2 separate regions of the Homo sapiens genome follow, and region 2 is linked to region 1. Evidence: promoter capture Hi-C in human tissues and cell types (Jung and others, 2019). All regions are on one chromosome and are shown on one strand. Each heading gives the region's core, a stretch centred on a gene start or on the middle of the fragment in contact. The rest is flanking DNA. Distances are from core to core; before and after follow the strand shown. Region 1 holds the start of ATP10B (ATPase phospholipid transporting 10B (putative)). Region 2 overlaps ATP10B (ATPase phospholipid transporting 10B (putative)).

Region 1 (3,303 bases), core at 401-2,900:
AGACTAAGTTCCATTCCATTCCTCAGAGCTCCGTTCCTTTGAAAGGCAGCCTCCTTCACTGGACTTATCAGTATCACATGCTTCAAAAGATAAGGCTCATCGTTTAGCACGAGAGGAGTATGATTTAACTGTAAAAAGTCAGCATGTGGGTTTCAACCTTCAGTTTCTCAAGAGCCTATTAATCCACCCATATGTGATGTTATACTGCTATACTCTTTAAAAAATACATGATGAAAACCTGAGGAGAGATCCTGAACCCTTAAATCCATATAATTAGGCTGTAAGAAATGAATTTTCCAAGAATTTTTTAAAAAGTCATCAATGGATGAAATGACAAACTCAGTGGGTGTTATTAAGAGTAATTATAGTAACATCTAGACAGAAAACAACATCTGTGATCTGCCTGATTAATGGCTTAATGTAACTGTATGTCTGTTAATGGAATAATACTCCAAGCAGTCTTGACTGTACATTTGCAAGATCTGGAAACAGAGAAGAAACTGTGGAAGAAGGAAGTAGCAGAGTGCCAGATTGGCTTTGGGAGGTCAAGCTCCTCTCTACAGTTTTCAAATTCTCCTCTGCCTACCTGGCAAATTCAGAGAAAATTGCCTGGCAAATTCAGAGAAAAACCAAGTTCCACCAGACACAGGCATGCACTCCTGTAGGCAAAATAACTAGCAGCTCAGTATAATTTTTATTTTTAACATTACTTTTCACCTTAGGGTTAGGGATAGTGTCACTCCAGCCTTAATAGCAGGCCACAGGACTGTCCTAAATGTATTCATCACAGACCTGCATGCATGGGGCTTTTTTATTTTTTTTCTGGAAGGAGTAACTCATACTTAGGGAAAAAACACATTTTTCTTTAAGCAACAGTTTTCTCCTTTGAACTCAAAGGAAAGTCAAGCTTCCCACCTATAGTTGAAAACTACTGCAATATGGCAGCTTCAGAGTTTATCAAGATGAAATTGGGAAGCCATGTAATGATCTCATTCTCTTCCTCAAAGCTATAGTTTCTTTCTGCTTTGAGAAGAAGGCTGTAACTCCATCTGCTTCCTCAGGCTGCACTGGATGAATGCAGGATAGCAGGATATATTATTTATCATAAAATGTATTCAGGCACATTCAGACTGCAAGCCCTGTTGAGTGAGGAAGTAGCATTTGCCATCAGCTTATCATAATGAAATCAATTGACGAAAAATAAAACATTCTGTTAGAAAAGAAATGTGGATCTCGCACCCAGAAAGCCAAATGAAATTTCAAATGCAGTGTAAAGAAAAGTAGTCATATCCTGGGCCTAATTCAGAACTTAGACTTGATGATTCTAAGAGGCAATTACTCCCCCATTATATAGGTTAAGGCCAGGATGCTTTTACTTACCCCAGCAAAGCTGACGTCCCTATTGAGCAGACTCCAGTAGAAGAAAACAGTGCTTGAAAGTGGCGGTATTTCTCTCGCACACCTTGGCTAAAATAGTTCTCTTTCCTATGGAATTTTTCATTTTTCTGATTATATCTGATTATGTCAAGGCAAGGCCTCAAGCTAACACTCCCTCAGAAACTTAGAGAAGATGACACACTGAAAAGAAATAACTGTGACCAATGAAAGAAAAAGGAAAAATAAGCTGCCTCGCTAGGCCCAAGAGTGAAAGAGAAGAATAGCAAGTCTGTGAATGTGAGGCCGAGTCCCAGAACAGTGAAGGCAGTGTTCTTCGACTTGGCTGAACATTTACATTGTTAGACATGGTTCTTGCATAAATTTCTACTTCCTGTGAATCAATGAGCCAGCAATATCAAAATTCATGGTGATTTTTATTCTCTACGCATGGTACAAAATGACTTTGTCCATCTACCTTTGGTAATGCATGTAATTAAGTGTGAGACAATTATAACCTTGCAGTTCTCTTTGGGGGGCCTGAAATATGATTCAGCTGCTGGGTTTCAAGGGCACTTAAGAAAGAAAAGACTCTCTACAGTGACTTTTATATGCATGCTGATGATGAATTTGCCCTCAAAGCTTCAGAAGTCTCATTTTGCAGTAGTCATAGTTTTTATTGATTACTGTTTGATTATACAAAATAAGGAAAGTGGGACCAATATATTATAGTGGCAGATTATGTGAATGGTGCAAACTTACAGAAAATCAGAATTAGTAATGGGCTTATTGATAGCTTCGATTCATACCCTAAAATGAGATTTTCATGTATAATCCTTTTATTAAGTTACCTACAACTCAACTAATTGGCATAAATGTCATGAGCAAGTTGCTGTATTGATGGATAATTATTGATGGGTCCATAAATAAAAGAGAAGGTAGAATGAGCAGTAAGTTGATTTTAAGGGTAGTAAAAAAAAGAAATATTACCAAACTTAGGAATAAAAGGTGTTGGAAAGAAGTGAACATACTAACTTCATGAAAATCTTTACATAAGATTTTGGTTGGTTGGTAGAGTAATTGTGAACTTTGTATGTACCTACAGATCTTATCAGAATACCAAGAAGAAACATGGACATAGGAAACATTTTACAAGAGAAGAAACACCCACACCATCTAAAATCTGCATCGCTGTGTGTGTAAGACACAAGCTAGGAATTTTTAAGAACATGAAATTTGCCTATGCTTTAGACAGTCTAGAATTTTTAAAAGAGCGAGTTGGCATTTCAAAATTCTCCATCTGCTAAAGAGAAGAATGCTTAAGTCCCTGTTCCTTTACTTCCCTTCACTCAGAGTGCTCTGGCTTCTAGGGACGAGTGTGGTCTAGAATCACAGATACGGTTAAATTGCAGAATATTGCACTAGTGGGTAACTGGAGGTTATTTAGTGAAGCCCCCTTGTGCCATGGAGGAGAATGCTGAAGCTCAGAGAAGTGAATACAATTGCTCAAAGCCAAACAGGAATTTGGTGGTGAACATGGGACCTCAAACCACATTGTCTTTCTCCTAAGACTAGTATATTTTCCATCACTGGTCTTTCTCCTAAGACCAGCTCTTTCCCATTATCACTTTCCTGGTAAAGAGAGAGGCACATGCAATTTAGGAACAAATGTGTCTGTAGCATCCCTTGGGTTTTCATGCTAACCAATGAATAGAGAGTCCTCAAATATGTTCATTTTCCAAACTGCCTGGAAATCGTAAATACTAACAGACATATGGCAAATTATTTATAAAATGTGTTGAAATTAAGTGACACTGTCTGGCTAATTAGAACCCTAATAAACAAATAATAGATAAGAAATGCTATGTTCAGTTTTTATTAGAGGGACTATCTTTCTTTTGTTTGGCTGCTGGAATTTTGTAATAAATC
Region 2 (2,965 bases), core at 226-2,725, 48 kb before region 1:
CTATATCAGTGGTTCTCAACTGGAAGCAATTTTGTCCCCCAGAGGACATTTGGCAATGTCTAGAGGCATTTTTGGTTGTCGCACCTGGGGAAGTCTACCGATATCTAGATGAGACAATGCCTGCGATATTGTTAAACATCTATGGTGAATGCACAGAACATTTCCCACCAGTCATCTCCCCAACAAAACATCAGTAGAACTGAAGGGGAGAAACCCTGACTTAGACAAGTTCAAAATGCATGGTAAGGGACACTGCTAAGTTCACATGGAGAGCCTGATACCTACTGCTTAAGGCACTTGAGTTCTTTTCCATTTCTTCCAGCCTAAAGTTAGTTGCTAATGGCTTCAGCCTCCTGAATGTGGAGACTGTACATTAGGGGGCAGCTTGGTTTCAGACTTGCAACCGCTGCTGTGTCAGGATTCAAAGTATCAGAGTGTGTGTGGGGATGCTTTTGTCTGGCTTCTTCTCATCTTTCTCTTGCTGAGCTCAAGTGGGAGGTTTCTCTTCAGTTTCACGATTCTTCATCCCCCATCCCCATTCCAGAAAAAGGCAGGAGGGGAGATAATTGGGGGACAACATAAGGTTGTCAGCTGCTTGCTCAGAAGGAAGGAGTTACTTCCAGCTGAACTCACTCTCCTGCACATGCTCCCTGGGCAGACTTTTGCTATCATGGGCTTTCTCCGTGACATGCTCCTGTTCAAAAGGCTTCTGTTGGCTCACTTGGCATGGTGGGCTTGGAACCAGCTGACCTGGGCTTGACTAGCTATATAACTTTAGATCTCTAAACCTCAGTTTTTTTCCTTTTTGTTGAAGGAGGATGTTGTCATCAACTGTTTAGGTTGTGCTATATGGATTAAGAAACCACACTATCACTGCTGTTGACCACTACCCCAGTTAACATTGCCATGAAGATTATCACGTACCAGGAACTGTGCTAAATGCTTTACACATTATTTGATTTAAGCTTCATTGTAACCTACTTTTTAGAGGCATCAACTGAGGCATAGGAAGAGGCTACTTGGGCCAGGCACGGCGGCTCACACCTGTAATCCCAGCACTTTGGGAGGCTGAGGAGGGCAGATCACAAGGTCAGGAGTTCAAGACCAGCTTGGCCAACATGGTGAAACCCCGTCCCTACTAAAAATACAAAAATTAGCCGGGCGTGGTGGTGCATGCCTGTAATCCCAGCTTCTTGGGAGCCTGAGGCAGGAGAATCATTGGAACCCCGGAGGTGGAGGTTGCAGTGAGCCAAGATCATACCACTGTACTCCAGCCTGGGTGACAGAGCAAGACTCCATCTCAAAAAAATAAAATAAATAAAAAGAGGTTACTTGTTCAAGGTCACATAGCTTGTACTTGGTAGAATAATTTAAACCTGGTGGTCCTACCACTAAACTCTCCTTAATTAATACTGAGAAAGAGCTCTGGATAATGTGAGGTGCTATGCAATCTCAGAATCTTTTCCCCATGATTTATATTTGTTATTTATTTAACTGGTATTTATTGAGTGCCTCTTAGATGTCAGAGACTATGCTAGAGGAGGTCAACACAGATTTTTTTTTTCAACGTTGCCCCTGTAGGATTCATGGGGAGGCAGAAATCAAATTTCTGACTCCAGTTCCTGACTGGAACTGGAGTTACTGTGCCCTGATGTCCTCCTGTGTTCCAGAGCAGATTCAGTGCAAAAATACAAAACAAAAACAAAACTAAGTCAAATGTCCTACCCTTGCACCCATACATAGAGATAAGCAGATCTATTTGGCCAAATAGCTACTTCTATAAGGGATGAGGGTTGTGTGTTGTGTAGTCATCACTTCCTTAGGAAACATTTTTCATCTTTGTCAAAGTCCCCTTTTTGCAGTCTTATTGTAGTATGCACTTCTCCTTCTCAGCAGTTGTCTGGTCTCAATTGTATACTCATATGTGTGTATGTGATAAATAGATGAACTATGTTGTACTGTTTTGTTCATCATTTGTTCCTCAGTGTCTACTTCTGGGGTGGAATATAGAGAGTGTTCTATAAATATCTAATAAATGAACTTGAGTTCATACTATGTGTCAGCTCCTGTGCTAGGATCTTCACGTGCATTATCTTACATGTGAGAATGGATGAGTACTGACATTTTCCAGAGGGGGAAAACAGGCTTATGAGCCCATAGTCATATAGCTGGTAAATTAGGATTCTAACCCAGGTTCATATAGATCCAAAGACCCATGTCCCTTTAGTATCAAACTAGACTGGAGTTTGAAAACTACACATTTGCAAATTTGCAATCATCTTGCAGAGAGTATGATCACAGTGGGGACTGTGAGCTCCAGATTCAGTCATTTTGAGTTCAAATCTTGGTTCCATTACTTCACAACTGTTGGACCTTGGGATATGTGTGCATCTTATGACTCACTTTTCCTTATAAATAAAATAGAAATAAAAAACAGTAGCACCTCATGATGTTATTGTGAAGGCTAGTTGGATTACAGCTGTCCCTGCATATATGCAAGAGATTGGTTTCAGTAACCCCCCACCACCAAAATCCATTCATACCAAAGTCCTGCTGTCAGTATTGCAGAATTATGTGTACCAAAAAATGGCCTTCCAGATACATGGGTTCCCTCAAATATTGTATTTTCAATTTGTATTTGGCCAAAAAAAAGCTGTGCATACATGGACCCGTGCAGCTCAAACCTGTGCTATTCAAGGGTCAACTAAATTTGTGACGTGTTTAGAATAGTGCTTGGCACATTGTATGTGTCTATATATTACATGTGTTTGCTTTTATTCTCCTTGTTGGAGAAAGAAGAGCTTTAAAGACTATATATCATTGTTTATGTATCATTTTTAGGATTCTGCACATGAAGTATACTAATCTGATAAGAAATGTTGAAATTTATGTGCTGATGACAAAAATAATTTAGCAGTAATTAATAATAATGTGTGTCTCCTGCATGGCAGCTCCTCAGCGTATC

Evidence for each region. Contacts are between HindIII fragments. The study calls those that stand out against the background at their distance.
Region 2: a contact is called between a fragment that was not itself captured here and the fragment with the promoter of ATP10B in region 1, in 1 of the 25 tissues and cell types used here (dorsolateral prefrontal cortex).

Annotation. Positions count from the first base shown.
Region 1 is chr5:160,850,561-160,853,863 of GRCh38, forward strand. It overlaps ATP10B (ATPase phospholipid transporting 10B (putative)), which reads right to left and starts at 1,651. Exons shown (of 26, transcript NM_025153.3): 1 at 1,381-1,651. The HindIII fragment of the contact is 6,864 bases long and covers 1-3,303 here.
Region 2 is chr5:160,802,374-160,805,338 of GRCh38, forward strand. The region is part of intron 1 of ATP10B (ATPase phospholipid transporting 10B (putative)); the gene reads right to left. Among named protein-coding and RNA genes, the nearest start is that of ATP10B, 48 kb to the right of the region's middle. The HindIII fragment of the contact is 5,635 bases long and covers 1-2,965 here.